2 separate regions of the Homo sapiens genome follow, and region 2 is linked to region 1. The links are contacts of gene promoters, found by promoter capture Hi-C in blood cells and fetal thymus (Javierre and others, 2016). All regions are on one chromosome and are shown on one strand. Each heading gives the region's core, a stretch centred on a gene start or on the middle of the fragment in contact. The rest is flanking DNA. Distances are from core to core; before and after follow the strand shown.

Evidence for each region. Contacts are between HindIII fragments. The CHiCAGO score rates a contact against its expected background, and 5 or more counts as called.
Region 2: a fragment that was not itself captured here is called in contact with the fragment with the promoter of NECTIN3-AS1 in region 1 in 1 of 17 cell types (fetal thymus); the score reaches 5.7 in fetal thymus.

What each region holds. Positions count from the first base shown.
Region 1 is chr3:111,067,321-111,072,504 of GRCh38, reverse strand. NECTIN3-AS1 (NECTIN3 antisense RNA 1) reads left to right here and starts at 2,546. Exons shown (of 4, transcript NR_045114.1): 1 at 2,546-2,715; 2 at 3,034-3,241. It overlaps LOC151760 (putative uncharacterized protein LOC151760), which reads left to right and starts at 739. Exons shown (of 4, transcript XR_007096272.1): 1 at 739-1,013; 2 at 3,034-3,241. It overlaps NECTIN3 (nectin cell adhesion molecule 3), which reads right to left and starts at 689. Exons shown (of 6, transcript NM_015480.3): 1 at 328-689. The coding sequence starts at 487. RefSeq lists a silencer at 862-961. The HindIII fragment of the contact is 1,000 bases long and covers 2,341-3,340 here.
Region 2 is chr3:111,686,326-111,691,642 of GRCh38, reverse strand. All of the region lies in intron 1 of PLCXD2 (phosphatidylinositol specific phospholipase C X domain containing 2), which reads right to left. Among named protein-coding and RNA genes, the nearest start is that of PLCXD2-AS1, 12 kb to the right of the region's middle. The HindIII fragment of the contact is 2,682 bases long and covers 858-3,539 here.

The sequences.
Region 1 (5,184 bases), core at 1,297-3,796:
TCCCAGAGAATGAGCGAGGAAGTAACGGTCCCCGGAGCAAACCCGGAGTTCGGCGCACGAAGCACCATCGCCAACCCTCGGCCATCCGCACGGCGACCCGCGCGGCCGCGGGGGAGGGCAGCGGGCCGCCGGCTCAGCATTCGCTGGCCTGGCCCTTCCAGGGCCTCGCCCCGGGCGCGGCGAAAAGTTTCCAGCCAAAGTCCTCGGCACTCGCTCGCACAACCAACCGCCTCGCTGCTCCAGAGAACGGCTGGCAGAGCCGGCCGCGGCGCCCGCACCCTCAGTGGCGGCTCCCTCAGCCCACGCCGGCCGCCGAGGTTCACCTACCACAGAGCCTGGAGAAGAGCAGCAGCGGGAAGAGCAGCAGCAGCAGCGGAGGTGGCGTCGGGGGCTGCAGCAGGAGCCCGGCTCCGAGGAGAGAAGCGGAGGAAAGTTGTGCTTTGCCGCCTCCAGGACACAGCGGGGACGGCCGCAGGGTCCGCGCCATCCCCCACCCTCCCCCCGGCCCGCTCGCCCGCCCGCCCCCCGGCTCCCCCGGCCCCGGCGCCTCAGGCTCTGGGCGGAGGCTGTGGAAGGTCCGGCGCGCGCGTCCCCAGCTCCCAGCTCTAGCGCCGTCGCTGCCGGCTGACACTTGGCCGAACGCTGGCGGCTGCCTCGACACCGCCGTCGCCGACGCCACTGCCGAGGCTGAAGCGGGAGCCGCCCGCCGCCGCCGCCACTCCCCTCCCCTCGGCACCCGCCCGCGTCGAACTCCTGGGAACTCGGAACGCACCACCCCGCCCCACGCAAGAGGGGGAAAAGAAACCGACTCTCAGAGCGGGCGCCCGACTCGCCCGCCCTCCCCGCGCAACTCCACCTCCCGTCTGATCCCCGGGCGCAAGCCCTGTCTCCTCCCACCCCGCCCTCCTACACATGCTCCTCCCCTTTCAAAAAAAAATATTCTTTTCATCCACTTTGATAACGGGGTTTCTCCCACAGCAGAGATTTAAAAGGGACAGGAAAATCTGGAATAGGTTAGTCGGCCCCGCCCCTCGTTCCTGCCTGGTTTCCCCCCTTCCCTGCCTTTCCAATGGTCTCGCCCACTCCACCCCTCGCGGGTCCACGGGGGCCCCGGCGCCGACTGAGGCGAGGGCTGCGGGACAATCACGCTCGGCCTTCTCCTCTCCCGGGCGGCGCTCTCCCTGTGGCGGGGACCTGGGACGAGGGGGTGGGGTGGGGAGGGGAAGGCAGGAGGGGGCTGCCCTTCCGTTGCCCATGCTAAAGGTTCCTGTGTAGGAAGCTGGACGCAGCCTGCTGGACTAGTAATCTTCCTCCTCGCTGGGGCGCGGGGCACTGAAGGGAGGGAGAGACTTTCTCCTCCTTCCTGTTCCCCGGGACAGCTGTGCTCTCCGAATCCTTCCCTTCTTCCCAGCCCACTTATTCCCCGCTCGCCAAGGCACGTTTGCACAGGCATTTTTCCTGCTCTTTTTTCTGGGAGGGCAGCTTGGTAGAATGGTCGGCGGAGCTGGGCGAGGAGAGGGGTCTTCAGAAGGTTTGCTTTCTTGCTCTTGCTTCTCACTGGCCGCTGGGCTGTCCACTTTCCGCGCCGGGCGACTGGCAACAGGAGGCCATGGATTTCCCCCAACGAGTGCGTTGGTGTTTTTCTTTGGTTTTGTTTCCTTTGCATGTTCGTATGTGTAGTTTTATTTTCTTGCCTGTTTTCGTTTGATGGCAGAGAGGCGACCTCGGGAAGTATTAAACATTTGCCCGTATAAGAAGAGCGTCTGTGGTCCACCATGACCCTCGCTCATCCCAGGTGGCTCTCCGCCCTGCCCTCTCCATCCTCCCGCCTCGCACAGTACCGGCAGCTTGACCTTGGAGCCACTGCCACATTGGTTCCGCGGGGGGAGTAGGAGGGTGGACAATTTGGACTGTCCAGCGTAGGGGGTGAATTGAAGGCAGAGGACACCAGTCCTCAGGCCTGACACTATTAATTTTATGTAGGTCCTGTCATCTCCACGAGATAGCCATAAATGTGTTCCAGTAACAGGAAAGCTGAACAAGGATCAGCCGCCCAGAAGTTAGCCTGTCGCAGCTAAACTAATGCATGCTTGCGGCCAAGACCACGCTGTCCTCGGCTTTCAGTCAATAGGGTCTTCCCACCTTCCGCCCGCTGGATTACAAGGCTTTACTAACCTCCAAGGCTACAAGCCATTCTACACCCTGCCCACCTCTTTTTTCTTTCTTAACTTCTGCCTCCCTTCCAGTCTCCCAGCGCTCGGTCTAGTGCCTTTTTCCCTCCAGCCCTTTCCTCTTCCCTCCCTCCCTGTGCCTGTCTGCCTCTGTCGTCCCCTGTAAGCTTGTCTCCTGCAGCCAAGGCTTTCTATCACCTATTCTCAAGATGCACTTATGAATAAACCTTGTCCTGCATCGCTCCGGGAGATCCCCTGATGATGATCATAATTGACAAAATGTAGCTATTGTGACATTCCTCAGCTGTGCTGACACCACCGTTTCCCTTGAGAAAATTTCTTTTTCTATATTCGCATTCCCTAAACCTAATTTCACTGCTAAATTTAGACAGCTCACTGCGCAGCCACTAGCTAATTATCTGTTTAGATAGCACTTTAACACGTTGTTGAGACTCAGTTAAATGTTAAACAACCAAAATTTTAATATCACTAGCCAATTTCATTCTTCCAGGTTTTCCCTGATGGCTCCACATCTCCAAGAAAAGTAATTTAGCCAACATTTCAAAAAATACCAAAGGCTTAACTTGGGTAGGGGCCATCGGGCAATTGCTACAGAGACCATAAGGAATTAGCAGGTTAAGTTCGTCTCAAAAAGATGACATGGAGCTTTAACAAATATATTTCCTCCATACTTACAGAAATTGAATAGTGGTCTGCTATGATATTCTCTGACCTAAAGTGAAGAGAGAGCATGGAAGAGCATTATTTATAGATGTTATATAAGCATTAAAAGAGCACCATGCTGGTGTTTTATGTGCATATATGTATTATATTCTAATAATAATAATTTGTGTTTATACAGCATCTTCAACTAAAGATGTCAAAGCACAAGCTCACTTCCCACGGAAGGTAGCAATTACTATTATCTACTTGACAGCTACAAGAACCTAGGCACAGAGGTTAAGTGCTCTGCAAATACTACCAGCCAGTGGTGGTTTTCCTGCCAGAACCAAGTTCTTGCCTTCCAGTGGACACCATTGATCTCTCAAGATGATTCTTTAAGTTAAAAAGTAAGATAACTCAAATTTCTACTTTCTATAATAAAAGTGCCCAATCTTAAATTACATTCTCCTCAGATGAGTGAATTTTAGACATACTCACCCCAAGCTTTCCTGTTGGAAATTTTTACTGGCCACAGAAAAAGATTTTACATTACATATACAACTCATGTTTTTCAAGGGCAGAAATACTATTAATTTTTTTAAAACCTTTAGCATGAGAGTATTAGTGCGTTCTATGCCATTTTTAGTCTTCTAACTTTATACATAAGTTCACATTTATTGTTTGAATAACAAACTGTTTAAGGAATACTTAATTATAGCTAACTTATTAATATTTCTGACACCATTGAATAACAAAGTATACATGCATTTTTTCAGAAAAAAATTATCTGAACAGAAAGCAATGTAATCCTAATGCCAACAATAGTTTCATTGTTTTGGGTTAAGAGTACTGATGGTGTCCATCCTACTTTCGGCTCAAAGATTGTTTGCCAATTATCAAGGTTCATTAACTCTTAACTAAAAAACAAAGGTTGACATCTTAACAAAGAAGTAATTATGTACAGTGCTGGGCATTTTACATTTACTCAAATAATCCAAGTGAAAAGTTTGAGACTATTATTAGAATTTCATAGCTGACTCTGAAACAAAGGAGGTATTTTACAGGAGAGGTAAGACATTATATACTTCAGCTAATTCTTCTTAACATCAGCAAATTCTATAACCTGCTGTGTGAGGACGCATAGCTTTTCCTTTAGTAAAAGAGATGAATGATATTTTGTAGAATATTTGAACTTTGTACTATATTTGATAATAAGCTTATGTTATCCAGTTAGGATCACAGTTTTTGTAAAGAGAATTATGCAAATAATAAAAAACAAACTGCAAAATCGCAGAAAAGTCCATCCACTTGCAAAACGTTCACCAACCTTACTCTTATTAAATGCAAGTCTTTCTTACTGAACAGATCTTCCCTGTATGCTCATATGACTTTCTCCCTCCTATTTCCTTTGAATCTTTGATAAAATTTAACTTTATCATTGAGGCTCTCCAGGACCACATCATATGAAAGAGCTTCCCCCACCCTAATCCCTATGCCCTTAACTTGCTTTATTTTCTCCATTGCCCTTACCATCTGACATGTCTCTAATTTACTGTCTGTTCCCTTTCACTAGAATGAACAGTCCACAAGGGCAAGCAAGTATCTATATTTTCACTGTTAAAACTCAAGTAGGCCAGGCACAGTGCCTCCTGCCTGAAATCCCACCACTTTGGGAGGCCAAGGCTGGCAGATTGCTTGGGTCCAGGAGTTCAAGACGAGCCTGGCAACATGGCTGTGTTAGTCTGTTCTCATGCTGCTAATAACGACATACTTGAGATTGTGTAATTTATAAAGGAAAGAGGTTTAATTGACTCACAGTTCCACATGGCTTGGGAGGCCTTAATCATGGAAGAAGGCAAGGAGGAGCAAAGTGGTGGCAGGCAAGAGAACATGTCCAGGAAAACTCCCCTTTATAAAACCATCAGATCTCATGAGACTTATTCACTATCAGGAGAACAGCACAGGAAAGACCTGCCCCCATGATTCGATCACCTTCCACTAGGTCCCTTCCACAACACGTGGGAATTGTGGGAGCTACAATTAAAGATGAGATTTGGGTGGGTACACAGCCAAACCATATCAATAGCAAAACCTCCTTTCTCCTATAAATACAAAAAAAAAAAAATTAGCCGGGTGTAGTGATGTGCTCTTGTAGTCCCAGCTACTTTGAAGGCTGAGGTACGAGAATCAGCTGAGCCCAGGAGGTCGAGGCTGCAGTGAGCCAAGATTGCATCCCTGTACTCTAGCCTAGGCAGCTGGAGAAAGACCCTGTCCCCCAAAAAAAACCAAAACCAGAACAAAACAAAACAAAAACCCCAAGTACCTAGAATAATGTCTGCCATATAGATTC
Region 2 (5,317 bases), core at 949-3,448, 620 kb before region 1:
TTTACTTTCAATAACATGGTGATTGCAGAGTTTGTCTTTGGACCTAAATGCCTGGTCCCTGCCAGTGCAGGAAAATTGATGAAGAGATTAAAGCTATTTTAAATTTTGTAAAGACCTAAAGAATTTCTACATAGGGACACAGGAGGGCACTCTAACCTTCTCTCAGTTGAAGAAACAGTCTGTAATTCCACAGCTGAGCCTGAATCCCAGTGCTGGTTCTGCTGTGATTACTTCTGTGAACCTGGGCTTCCAAACTTGTACTTGGAATTCTGTTTCTTCATTTGCAAACTTAGGAAAGTGAGTGAAATGCGACTTAGGGTCTCTTCTATCTTAAGAATTGGATAATTCCACTTATTAACAGCTTACTAAAGGCATTTGTGACCATATTTATGAAGGACTATTCATCATTGCAAAGAAATAACATTTTTCTTTCACACTTACCATACTTAAACAGAAAATATGCCTGTAAATTTAACTCATCATATTTGCAAAAAGCAAATCATTCCAAGCCTAAAGTGGTATTTATTGCTTTTTGGCTGAGAATTTCGTCAAATTGCTGGAGACCTTCTTTCTGCTCACACAGATTCCTAGGACCCATATTCCTGTTGGGTCTTAGGTGTGTCCTACAGTGATTAAATGCATTGGCTAATAGTTCACTTATTGTTTAGCATTTATGTGACAGTGCCCTTCACTTTAAAGGCTGTTGTTTCATTATTTTGTGGGTCATTTTAATGGAATTTATCATTGGGACTTTGAAAAAACATATTTAAAGTTACCTAGTTTGGCTGGAATTTTTCACAGGGCAGAGTTATTTTAAGATTCATTTGATAAATTGGAGAATGAGATACAGAGAAGCTTCTTAGCTAGTTCCCCTCCAGGATAAGAAGAGGTTTTTTTCTCTTTCCTGTAAATAAAGGCCTAAGCTAGGTGTTCTGACAGAGGAAAGGGAAAAGGGAGGAGAGAAAATCCAGTAAGTAGCAGTTTAAATTACATGAAATGGTGGGCTTAAAGGGAATTTGTACATTACACCCAACGGGGAAAGTGAATGAAAACACACCCCACCCTTGAAGACCAGTGTTCTGAGAGCTTACACACCTGCTAAAGCCTCATGCTGGTCTTTCTGTGTAGAGGCAGAATAGAGGCCAGATAGATTTTTTTCTGTGCCGGAGCCTTGCTGGGTGATTACTACATAGACCACTTAAACCACTGGGCTGCTTTTGTTCTGAGTCAATAAAAAGCCTCCTAGATGTCTGGTCTTGAAAAAAAAAATGTAACTTGTTCAGCCAGAACAGGTCAGCATGTAGTCCTTCAAACATCACCATCCTCATGGGTGCTCATGCATTAGAGTCCCGACATGGGAGCAAATGGCCTCAGATGAAAAGAAAATTACCCTTTATTACAACCAACAAAAGAAACTAAAGTTACAACCCAACACTGGGTCAATCTCCAACTCTATCAATGACTTTTATTCAAATGCAATTAAATGAATTTGGCATGACCTAATTTTTACAATTCTAGTATTGTTATCAGGATTTTGGGGGGCCATCTGCTTAACCTCTCTGTGACTGAATTTCTTCATCTGTAAAATGGGGATAGTAGGAGTATCTACATCATTAATTTATTATAATAATTAATTGGCTTTATATAAATCAAACAGCAATATCGGTCCCCTAGGAAGTGCTATATAAATATTAAATGAGCAAGCTATCTTTCTTCTGCTTCTTTTATTATTATTATACTTGTTCTTACTCTTAAAGCCTTGAGGCATCTTGAGAAGACTGCAATGCAGTTATAAGATTTTGTCTTACCTTAGGCGTTACTACTTGCTTCCTGCCTGTCCTAGTTTCTCCTTAACTAGAAATATAGATTTTTAAATATCTGTTTTTTATGCTTAAATTCTTTGTAGATATATTTCAAGATTCCATCTTTCCCCTCCTTCTTCTTTCCCTCCACTTTTATCATAAGGTGCTTATTCTGAACAAGACAGCAAGTATACAGAAATGACAAAACAGTTGTATACAGCAGAGAGAAACAGTCCCAATGGGGTATATCATGTCCTATAATGGAAATGTGCACAGAGGTCATACCTGAACTGAACTGTAATTGGCGAGGCAAAGCGAAGGTGGGTTATTGGAAGGGAGGGTGTTCAAAGACTGGAATTATAACAGGGATAGAACACTTTCTTTCACAGTTTTCTTCAAGCCCAAAATTGTCACTGGCTCCCTATGGTCTACAACACAAAGCATAAAGTGCTTAGCACAGTGCTGAAAATCTCTCTCCAACTGGCTTGTCTGTCTTTCCGTAACTTTCCCATTTCCTTCTCCTGTCACTTCTACAGGTGACCATGGCAGCCCTTCTCTGTTTCCTGAAGGTGCCCTTGTTTTCTCATCTCTAATTTTGGGCATTTGCTTCCCTGTCTCTGGAATGTCCTTCCCTCTTCATGTTGAAATCCTCCCTGTCTCTCACAGTCCAGCTCACAGGTGCTCTTCTCCTGAAGCAGTTCCTTACCCACCAACTAGAAGTAACCTTTCCCTTTCCAGGTCCCAGCACAGTTTGCTTGTTTCTTTATCATGGTACTCACCTCATTCTGCTTTTATTTACTTTATTTGAACTCTTGTATATCTCTTATAAGATCTACAAACTACATCTTGTTCATTTTTTAAAAATGTCCCACAGTAGCTATTATGATATTAGGTATATATTAAGTAATCAAAAGGATGTTTAATAATAATAGCTATATATATATATAACATATTTATTTCATAATTGGCAATATTCTAATCACATTGTATATCTTATTTAATTCTTTTTTTAAAGTTAATTTACATTTATCTTGTTTAATTCTTTTTTGAAATTTAATTCTTAAGTAACTTTGTTGTGTAGTAAAAAATTTAAACCTTACCCAAAAGGAGGTATGGTCTTCGCCCTCAGTCCTTGGGAGGCAATTGCTTAAGCCCTTGGAATGTCCTGCCTGATCAAAGTATCTTTATTTACCTGACAGCTTTGGGCCATAAGGGAAAGTATAAGGATGTGATTTATGGTGCAGGATTTGAGTCACATGGGCATGGGCTTAACCTCTGAAGGGGCTGGATACTTAGGTCAGCCATGTGGAAGACCAGAAAAGATTCTGGACACCAAAGCTCAGGTGAGCTTCCCTGGTTAGCAGTACTTTGTGTGGTACTGTCACACATCAATACGAGGAAAGAAACACTGTCCATGAGAAGAGGACAACTGGAAGCTCCACATTTGGAAATTTCCTGAACTTTGCTCCATGCACCTCTTCCTTTAGCTGATTTTGATCTGCAGCCTTTCAGAGCAATAAACAGTAACTATGAGTATAACAACTTTCAATGAGTTCTGTCAATCTTCCTAGCAAATTATCAAACAAGGGTGATCTTAAGGCTCCCAAACCTGTAACTGGTATCAGAGTGAGGGTAGTCTTCCAGCTTGTGCTTCCTCTAACTTTGCACTTTTGAAGTGGATATTATAATTATCTCAATTTTACAGATGAAAAAACTAACAGACAGAGGGGTAAAGCTTTTTACTCAAGGTCATGCAACTATTAATAGTAGCGAGGATTTGAGCCTACAACCTACACTCTGAACTACTTTTTCATAGTGCCTCCTGTGTGAATAACAAAGAGAGAGAGAGGATAAAAGATATAAGAAAAGGCTGGGCACAGTGGCTCATGCCTGTAATCCCAGCACTTTGGGAGGTCATTGCGAGAGGATCGCTTGAGCTCAGGAGTTTGAGACCAGCCTGACCTGGTCTCTACTAGAAATAAAAAAAAATTAGCCAGGTGTGATGGCATGTGCCTGTAGTCTCATCTACTCAGGAGGCTGAGATGGAGAACTGCTTGAGCCAGGAGGTTGAGGCTTCAGTGAGCCATGGTCACGTCACTGTACTCCAGCTTGGGTGACAGAGCAAGACCCTGTCTCAAAAACAAAAAAAAAAAAAAGAAAGAAAGAAAGAAAAAACCCATAAAGAACAGAGGGATGAACATGTGTTCTTAAATGCTGAAGATATTTAGGGTGGCTTTCATAGAAAAACATCTTGTATTCCAATTCAGGTATTTAATCCATACAAATATTACAATAAATTTAATATGAACAGATAATAATTGTGCATGTTAAAATATTTGAGGCCTGAGTTAAGAATATATTAATTTACAAAGTTATTAATACATATAAGTACGCCTTATGGTCATTGAATATAGCAAAAGACTTGTCTAAGAAAACAAAAAACCCTTAGAGTCCTTGGGGACAATCTTATTGTCCCTTGCCTTTCCATTTTAATTACCATCATTAGTCTGTGAGCTCACCTGACTCTACCAAGGAGACTGACCTGTTCTTTCCTCTGTGATTCCATGGCAGTGAGTTGATATTTGATGAACTTAGGACATTGAGTGCTATTTATCTCCACATCTGTCTCTGCCACCTAAGTGAAAGTCTTTCAGGGCAGGAACATGTCAACTTCACGCTTATATCTCCAAACTTAGTTTCTGGAATTTAGTAGGTACTAAATGCATCTATACAGAATAAATACAAGCATGGATACTTGAATGAACAGATGCTCAGAGAGTTGCCTAAGGCTGGTGGGCCTAGCTCTCCTGATCCTTTCCCAAACTTCTATTAGGTCCATCCAACATTAAACAGGTAGGGTTCACTCTCTGCTCCTTTTCACCCCTTGCACCTGTTTCCTAGCTCCATTTATCTCCCTTTTTCCTTCTAGCTTGAGTTATCTGGGTCAATGAAGAGGAATGTGTCAGAAAACATAGAGGACAAAATTAACCAGAAAGGATGACTAAAGGAACAACTATAATAAAATATTACATTGAACAATTTTAAAAGAAAGGTACCAGAGAGATTTCCTGAAACTTATGCCTGCATAAATTATATTCTAATAATATCTCTTTGGAGCCACCAATCTCACACTTCTGAATTAGGTCCTTGAGAAAAATGTGACATTTGTAGAGAGCTTGACTCCATATTAACAAGTAGAGAAAGGCTGAGGCATCTTTAGGGTATACAAAATTAGTCATTATGAGTCCAAGATTCCAAATGAGGGGGGCCACTTAGTAGTCCCTTGAACCAAAGATAACATCTTTAAACCTTCTTCTCAACATATCATACTTGTTTATTTTCCATGAGGCATGTGGGAGAGTATTCATAATAACCATCAAACTGCCTGCAAAATCTGAGAGAGCCATGTGGCCAATTTAATTTTTAATCAGTCGCCTATTAAATTCATAATTATCCACAATGCAATAAAGCAACTGTTTAAGGCAGAATACTTGGAAGCAGAGGATGTTGATCAA